Linked DNA regions of Homo sapiens: region 1 is linked to region 2. The links are contacts of gene promoters, found by promoter capture Hi-C in human tissues and cell types (Jung and others, 2019). All regions are on one chromosome and are shown on one strand. Each heading gives the region's core, a stretch centred on a gene start or on the middle of the fragment in contact. The rest is flanking DNA. Distances are from core to core; before and after follow the strand shown.

Region 1 (4,399 bases), core at 1,593-4,092, 60 kb before region 2:
CTTAAGGGGAACGTGATAGTTGTGGAAAAACTTATGTATATAGACATGCATGCATAGAAATCTAGAATTGTGGGATTAAAATGTAAAGCGTAAATTGTTTGGTTGGACAGTGTGCTCAGCGTGCCTGATTCTGCCTCCAGCTCACCTTCCTGCAGCTGCCTCAGGAATGCACCTGGAAATAGCCAGAAATAATTTTGTCTCGTCAAGCTTTCTGTTCCTGTGTATATACAGATTTGGCATTTTTGCAGTGACAGTTCATTGACAACGAATACCCACCACATTGCTCAGTAATCTAATAATAATCAGATATGTCCTGTGTACTTAAAAGCAACCAGCTTCGTGAAAGTTAAAACATCCTAGCTTTCTTAGACATTAACAGTCAAATTTGCTTTGACTTTTCAAAAGTCAAAACTACTTTTCGTAGTTGAATGGAGTGAAGAAGGAGAGGCAAAAGATTTGTGTAAGATTTCCTGCGCAGTGTTTCTCTCTCTCTCTCTCTCTCTCTTAAAACCTGATTATTAGCATATGGCCTCTTCTAAAGGAAAAGATAGAAACAAAAGTTAGGGGTAATTTGAATCCCCCTAACCAGTGGTCAATTAGTGTGTCAACTAAGCTGTTGTTTTACATCTCTTAAGTTACAAAAATGTCCCCAGTCTGTCACAGAAATACACAATTATCTAAATTTTGAATGGGACAACAAGGAATTATTTTAGAAAAATGTGATTCTCCAACATTTTTAGTTTATCCCTCTTTTACATTGAGCATCATCAAAACTTTTGACTATCTCACTAGACATATTTTAGAAATCCAATGTAAACAAATTTTTTCTCCTGGAAGCTTCCTTTTTTCCCTTGTGATTCCCTATATTTATTTGTGGATGGTAACTAATAATATATATTAGTTACGTTTATACACTTTACCAAAATTGCATATGCCCTGAAATAAATTGACAAAACAACCGGAACTTGAGCTATCTAAAACAATACTTTTTAAAATGGTCATTTTGCATGATTTTGACAAAACAATAGTTTAATTCCTGGAAATGTTTTCTTTGTGGATGTTTGATAAAACTTCAGTCTGTGCTTGCACTATTAAACCACTGTTTTAGTTAGGTTAACTTTAAAATCACTACCTAGGGAAGAATGCCAACCTGCACATGCAGCAGATTACTCCCAAATTGTTTCACAACATATATACGGTTCAGGTTAGTTACCAATAAAACAATTCTACAGGAATGTGAGCTAATGCTACCAGAAAAGAAAAAAAAAAACTGTACAAGTAAAACACACTTACTGTTCCGATCCAGTCCAGTGTTACTGAAATGCCTGCCTCCATTTCTGGCTTGATTCAACGTGCTGTTGCTGCTGGGGTGTGCTGGAACAGGTTTAACCACATGTGAATAAAGGATTTCTGTGGCATCATTTTTAAAAGCCAAACAGCTTTTCATTAGGATGCATGCAAGGGGAAGGAGATAGAAATGAATGGCAGGAGGAAGCATGGTGAGTAGAGGATTTGCTTGACTGAAGAGCTGGTTAATTCTTTTGCTTCTGCTTCTGCACTGTAACTGTGAAATTCCTCCTCAAGCTTCCCTTTATATATCCATAGAGGTTTGGCGTTCATTCAGGTGTAAAGTTGTGTAGAGCTTCAGAGTGAAAACACAGAGAAGGGGTGGGATCCCTACATGACCCTGCAAAAGAATTTTACCAATGGAAAAGAAGACTGCAGAAAAGGAGGAGCTTGGTATACAAATTGCCTGAAATTTCAGAGTTGGACTTCATCACTTGTCTGTGAGCCGACGCAGGCAGGCGTATTCTATATCAACGACAGACTCTCCTCTGCCATTTCCTTTCCTGAATCTAGTTAACATTCGGGTTTAATTTAAACGAAAATACATCGCTGTTCATTTGAAGAGACTGGCTTTCCCACAGTTGTTCTGTACTTTCCTCAGATTTTAGAGTATTTGGGTCAGAAAGGGAGTTCTTCCCAGATAACAGGAGGAATTCATGTGAGTTTAAATATTGCAGGACTTGCATGAAGCACCTAGTTAGCTAAACATTGCTTTCTCTCAAGAAGCAAACCAATATTTTTTTTTCCTTAAAGTAAAAGGCACAGAGCTAAAACCTGCCCCCTGGACATGCTTAAATAATGCAGCTTTGATCTACAAGAACTACTGTGCTGCTAGGTAAATTATTGCCAGGGGTTTTGTGTGGAGAATAATGAGCATAGTTCTGTCTACATTAAAGTAAGTAATACTCATTTTTGTCTTAAAAATGTGTCACAAGCATTAATATCCATAGCATTGTTTTACATAAAGCCATTTGTGACAGACTTTTTAGCGGATTCAAAATAATTTTTTCTAGATTTTTTCAGAACACAGATTCTACTCGTATTTACTAAATATTTTGCTCATTACTTCCTTTGACTCTGCTGCCCAAGTAAGAAACCTATTTTTCTGAATTACTTTACCGGCACCCAGAACACGTGTTCCATTAATTAATTATAGGCCACTGATGATCCCTTTAAAACAATCATAAAATTCTATTTCATCATGGGACATCTCAATTGGAATAACTATTCTGAATCATCTTTTCAATTATAAATCCATTTTTGTCCTTTGTGTGGTTACCTAAATCACCTAATTTTGTATCTCTTTTCTGTATAAGCTTTTGTCCCTTGTAACTGCCATTTGCCTATATGTCTGCCTACCTGAATTTCTCCATAGCAGCGCTACTGGCATTTTGGAAGAGACAGTTCTTTATTATTGGGGGACCATCCTGTGTGTTTATCAGCATCCCTGGCTTCTAACGACTAGACGCCAGTAGCACCCCCCTAGTTGGTAACAAAAATAACTCCAAACATTGCCAAATGACCCCTACAGGGTAAAATCACCCCCAATTTAACCACTAATTATCTATTCATCTATCTCACTATAAAAGAAAGTAAAAATAAGTATAAAGGAAAAATATTATAATACCAAGAAATTATTGTTCTTTTTTAGGACAGAAATGGTACCGTAGTTTTGTTTTAAAACAATGACTGCTTCTCTATTAGAAGTATATACTGGAATATCCTTAGATGAAATGATTTTATATCATCTTTTACATTATATGGAATAAGCTAGAATAAGCTTCAAAAATAATATGAGGAGGTTAGAGGTGTGAGTGGCAAAAGATTAATTATAAGTTGATGGTTGTTACAGTAGGATGGTAAAGTATTATATTCTGTTTATTCTTGTGTATGTTCCAAATTCTACATAATAAAAAGTTTAAAAACCAGAGTCAGACAATCAGTTTAATGGACGTATACTTCCTACTAACAATATATCTCTATCCTACGATTGGATAGTCATTTATTCTAACATCCTTCCTGGAAAATCATATGTCAGTTTATTTTGTGCAAATGGAGATTACAGGCATCCTTCTAAAATACTAACTATGAAGAATTTCCTGCCCTACTTATCAGGGGACTTGATGTTAATTACACAAAGCATGTTAATATTAATCATTGACCTACAGACCCAATGCCTAAAGGAAATTAAAAGGTCAAAATAATCTAATCTGTTCCTCACTACTTTTTCTTTTTCTGTGTCAGAAGCAGGAGATATTTTAATTGGAATTTAATTATCGGGTTGGGCTAATGAGGTTGACCAAATTCACGCACAGTTATTAAATCTGCTGCACCTAGTATTCTGAAGGCTCAGCCTTAGGATATCACCTCAGGCAGAAGCAAAATTAGAAGAGAAGGCAATGTCGTTGTGCATGTGGACAGGACAAACTCAGAGTTCTTAGGCCCAATTTACCCGACAGACCCCTAGAGAACTATTTTGAGGCTGGGTGCAGTGGCTTCTGCCTGTAATCGTGCACTCTAAGAGGCCAAGACAGGAGGATCACTTGAGCGCAGGAATTCGAGATCAGCCTGGACAACATAGTAAGACCTTGTCTCTGCAAAAGTAAAATAAAAACTAGCTGAGCATGGTGATTCATGCCTGTAGTCCCAGCTACTCGGGAGGCTGAGGCAGGAAGAACGCTTGAGCCTGGGGTGTTGAGGCTGCAGTGAGCCATGATACCACCGCAACACTCTAGCCTGGGCAAGAGTGCGACCCTGTCTCAAAATAAATGAATAAATAAAAAGAAAGAAAACTACTTTGCTAAAATAGAAATAATCATAAATTTAATACTTAACAGTTATTCTGATCAGTTTAAAACAGCTCCATTAAAAATAACCACAAACTATTGCTTCTCGGCCTTTTGGCTCAGATCAAGTGAAGGATAACCACAAACTGTAATAACCCAAGAAGAATGGATATAGATGTTTAATATTGAAATTGATTCTTTCTCATCTTCAGGCATTAGTATGTACCTGTTATTCCCTTTGCTTATAACACTCTTCCCTCATCCTC
Region 2 (4,605 bases), core at 1,604-4,103:
TTATACATGTGATATAAGAATATGTATGTTGATTGCGGCCGATACATTGTTTATTCTATGCTCATTTCACACAGTAGAAAATGAGTGATAATGATCATTGTATCTAATAAATATTTTTCACTCACTTAGAAAAACAATATCTAGATTGATAACTGGAATTATTAAAGACAAAATTAGAAAGAATTATTTAAATTATGTAGTTTTAACGATAGCCATCACATGCATAATTTTTTTCTCACACATTTTTCACTGAAAACTTGTTCTTAAAAACTTATTCTATATCAATACAAGAATCTTTTACTCTGTAAACAATACACACAACCTGTCTAGGAGAGTTAATCAAATAATAAATTTTTTGAACTGAACTTCCAGCTTTTACTGTTGAAGAAACTGAGGCCCAGAGACATTAAGTGATTTGAAGGTGGCCAACAACTAGTTGATGTCAGAGCTGAGACTAAATCCCACATGCCCTGACTTGGAGCAGAGGGTTCTTTCTTCTTATCCAAATCCATGTACATGATATGATAGAGCTTTCAAACTGGGATATGCATACCCCTGCGGGCAATGGCAGCAAGCCAGGGAGGTAAAGCCACAGGATAAACACAGGGTGTCTTGCTTCAATGTAAATATTACACAAAGATTTGAGGAGAGTTTGGGGAACTGCTTTATTTTTATATTAAAACAAGATTGATTGTAAAGAAGAATGCATATTTTACATGAATTTTAAAAATTTCAGGCTGGATTCCTCAGGCTATAATCTTACCCCATGGAGGTAAAAGTTCTCTCTGCTCACTCTACTGGGAGTAATTCTTTTGTAAAAATTTCATGTCACCAATGTGAGAATGTCTGGGAAGGAGCTTTTGTCCAAAAAGTGCCTTCATTAACCTCCATCCTTGAGATTCCATAATTAAATTTGCTTTATTTTAGCCTTCGTGATCAGTTAATTTTTTCTTGAAGAAGGAACACATTAAGACCTTATAATAAGTGAGTTTTGAGTTCCTTTCCTAAGAATAAGGTTTTTTTCAAAATTACCTTTTTAATATGGGGTAAAATGCTAAAAAAATAAGAATAAAAATTTTTAATGTGATTTTAGTAGAAATTAACTGGTGACTAGTTTACATCTGCAAGATGCTCTTTAAAACTATTTTGCATATGGTTATAAAGTCACATTTGTGTAATGTAGAAAACTGAACAAGTATTGTGCATTTCCATTTTTTCATGTAGCATATTCGTGAATAATATCTGCAATGCTATAACACATATCAACAGCAAAAATGAGCCAATGAATTATTATATATGCCTTCTCAGTGGACCATTTCTCTCATTTGAGTTTTATTTCCAGGATAGAAACTACTTAAACAATAGTTCTTAGATGATTAATCCCTCCACAATAACTTGGAGAGCTTTTACCCCCACCTCAGCCCCAAATACATATTAGAACTACTGAAACAATGTGTACTTGATTTCCCCACTGAGACATTTTTTAATGCTTCATTTCAACACCAGCATTTTTTTTTAAATGCAAGTAGCTTGACCCATTTCAGAAAGCTACATTTGATTCCTAGATTTCAGGTTCAAATTTGGAGCCAAGAAACCAACTCGTTTAATCCAGTCAACATTAATTAAGCGCAGTCCGTTAAGCTCTGGCAGAAGAGAGAGATGTCTTAAACAGGATCCTGCCTCCAAAGTTACCCAAGCTAGAGGGAACAAGCCTCATATAAATAAAGTCACAAGATAATCTATACTAGAGGTTCCAATACAGTTACAGGAGACAGAAATTTCAAAAAACAAAAACAAAAAACAAGGTTGGAAAGATTGGCCAAATAGTGGCTCAATTTGTCCATTTTCTGCCAGAGAAAGGATTTCTCAGCTACTGAAACAATATGTACTTGTTCTTAGCCAATGAAGTCAGTAGAGAGTTCCTTCCATTTTTCTGTGCACCTGGACTCTTGAGGAGCCTTAATTCTACCACCCCCACCTTCATCCCAGGTGTGGGTCTATGATGAGGCAAGTAAGGCAGTGGCCTTGGACCCAGATGTAAGAAGCACCAAAAACTCAGCATTCAAAATAAATATTTTTTTTTGTTTGTTTTTGAGACAGCGTGTCCTTCTGTCACCCAGGCTGGAGTGCAATGGCTGGATCTTGTCTCACTGCAACCTCTGCCTCCCAGGTTCAAACTATTCTCCTGCTTCAGCCTCCCAAATAGCTGGGATTACAGGCGCATGCCACCATGCCCGGCTAATTTTTGTGTTTTTTTAAAATAGAGACAGGGTTTCTCTATGTGGGCCAGGCTGGTCTAGAACTCCTGACCTTGGGTGATCCACCTGCTTCAGCCTCCCAAAACACTGGGATTACAGGCTTGAGCCACCGCACCCGACCTCAAAATAAATATCTTAATGCAATATTAAAAAAAAAAAAACAAAATGTATGCAAATAACATGCATAATGAACAAAATTTCAAACTTTTAGAGACACGATCAGTAGTACTGTCTTTTTTCCTCTTGCGTCAAGATCCACAGCGACTCTGCAGCGCACCTCTTCACCCCCAGCCCGTACATGAGGCCAGGGGTCCACACACACACACGTCTAATTTCCAGAAACCTAAATTTCCTGATATTCATATCTCGAATCAAAGTGATGATTACTGGGTGACTGCCGTTGAGGCGCTCTGACCTCCTCCTGGTCCCGGACATAGCTGACCCCCGCTCTCCGGCATCCACCGGACGCATCACCATGAGCAGGGGTAACACGCGTGTGTCCGAGGCACAAGGGTGGGTGTTGCAGGGCCACACGCTCAAACGTCACAAAAGTCAGCGTTTGGCTTCAAATATTTCCCAGTGTGGACTGGCTTTTAGTCAACGGGAATGCGGTAACTGTTGGTAACAGAACAACGAGCTGTGCACCAAGCCAAGTCTCTCTTCGGTGCCACCGGCGGGCGAGGCCGGATTAATCACCGCTGCTTCGGCCGCCCATGTGTCCTGATGTCCTGGGACCCGAACCCCGTGCCCCGTACCTTGCGATGCTGGCGCCTACGGAGGGCATCCGAAACTGCCCTACAGAGCAGTCGCCGGGTAAGCGGCACCTGCCTTCCCAAGCCATCAGCCCCTTTGGCCCCCTGCCCCAGGGCCCCACCTCCTGCCTGAGGACTCCAGGCAGGTACTGAATTTGGAGGGGAATTTCAGTAGCCTGAAGACGGAGATAGGTCAGATTTCAAATTAATTGGTTAACATAAAAGGAGAACAAAGAATCCAGCACAAAATTGGGATGTGAACAGCTACGAGCGGTGGCGAACCCCCCTCAGCATCTCTGCCTGGGCTAGAGGTCCTAATCCCCTGGGTGGGGTTTGAGGACTTCCCAGTCCACACCAGTAGACTTACACTGACCTTTTACCACTCAGCATCTGCTGCGTATATAATTATAGTGGTTTGCAGATTAAGTGAAACGGAGATTAAGTAAATTTCGCAGTCTTGATTCTCCAACAGGGGTGTGTGTGTGTGTGTGGATGTGGGTGTGGGTGTGTATCCCTAATATATTGTTCCCAGCAAGGGCAAATCAACACCTTGAAGAGAAAACGTTATTTGATGAGCCCTACAAGCAGAGTCGAGAGCAGTTAAGATAATGATTAAAAGAATATTTGGATATTTGGGTGGGGAAAAAAAAATCTCAGAATTGTGCCAGGTAAGACCTAGCAAGGCTTTCTGGAGTTCTCTGACTCATCTGCAAAGATGGGGGGCTGCTGTGATTAAACGAGGCCGAGAGTTCTGTAATGAATTGAAAGCTCTTCACACTAAGTCCTAACTTGTGCCTGCGTGTTGCATGGAGGTATAAGAATTTATCATCAGAGAGGGCATTTTCTTCTATAGGTTTTAATACTGACCTTATTCTTCTAGGATTTAATAATCCTGCCATTTTCAAACATTTTTTTCCCTTTGATTCTAGATCCTCAGGCATCGGGTGGTGGAAGAAGCAGCTGCTGTTCTCCCCATGCTAGAACTGTTCACATCCCAATTTTGTGATGGACTCTTTTTATTCTCCTTTTAGGTTAACCAACTAATTTAAAATCCGACTTTTCACCCTCTTCAAGCTACTGAAATTCAGGCCTCTAAATTCAGTACCTTTTCTGAGTGACATCCTCCACCAGCCAAAACAATGTTGTAGATTGAAATTCTACCTTCTTCAAATGCTCCTCTGCCTCCTGCTGTCCTTTTCTTCTTCTACCTCACTTGACAATCATCCTCCTCTGTCTCCTTTCCATCATGTTTCCCTCTCCCTTCTCTCCATGTAGACACTTCATCGTGATCTTCCTTGGATCCCACTCTCCTCTGGTTAACTGACTTATCAGATCTGCACAGCTGCCCTGATGAGATCTCTGATGAGTTCCACATTTACCCTTGCAGCTTTCTGGTGGGCGCCTTGACCAGTCTGTTCCACCAGGGCCTCAATTTCAGCATTTCTCAGCTGCATCTGTCTTCCCTCCCATCATCTTTCTCATCAAGTCATCACATCATCATCATCATCACCTGTGACTTCCCTCGTGCTAATTCTCTGCCTCCATTTACTTGCCAGTTCCCATTCATTCTCCCTAAACACACCCCATGTCATATC

What was found. Contacts are between HindIII fragments. The study calls those that stand out against the background at their distance.
Region 1: a contact is called between a fragment that was not itself captured here and the fragment with the promoter of LRRC72 in region 2, in 1 of the 25 tissues and cell types used here (hippocampus).

Annotation. Positions count from the first base shown.
Region 1 is chr7:16,464,171-16,468,569 of GRCh38, forward strand. The region is part of intron 4 of LOC105375168 (a long non-coding RNA gene); the gene reads left to right. SOSTDC1 (sclerostin domain containing 1) reads right to left here and starts at 1,568. Exons shown (of 2, transcript NM_015464.3): 1 at 1,294-1,568. The coding sequence starts at 1,498. The HindIII fragment of the contact is 5,680 bases long and covers 3-4,399 here.
Region 2 is chr7:16,523,972-16,528,576 of GRCh38, forward strand. It overlaps LRRC72 (leucine rich repeat containing 72), which reads left to right and starts at 2,854. Exons shown (of 9, transcript NM_001195280.2): 1 at 2,854-3,071. The coding sequence starts at 2,982. The HindIII fragment of the contact is 16,941 bases long and covers 1-4,605 here.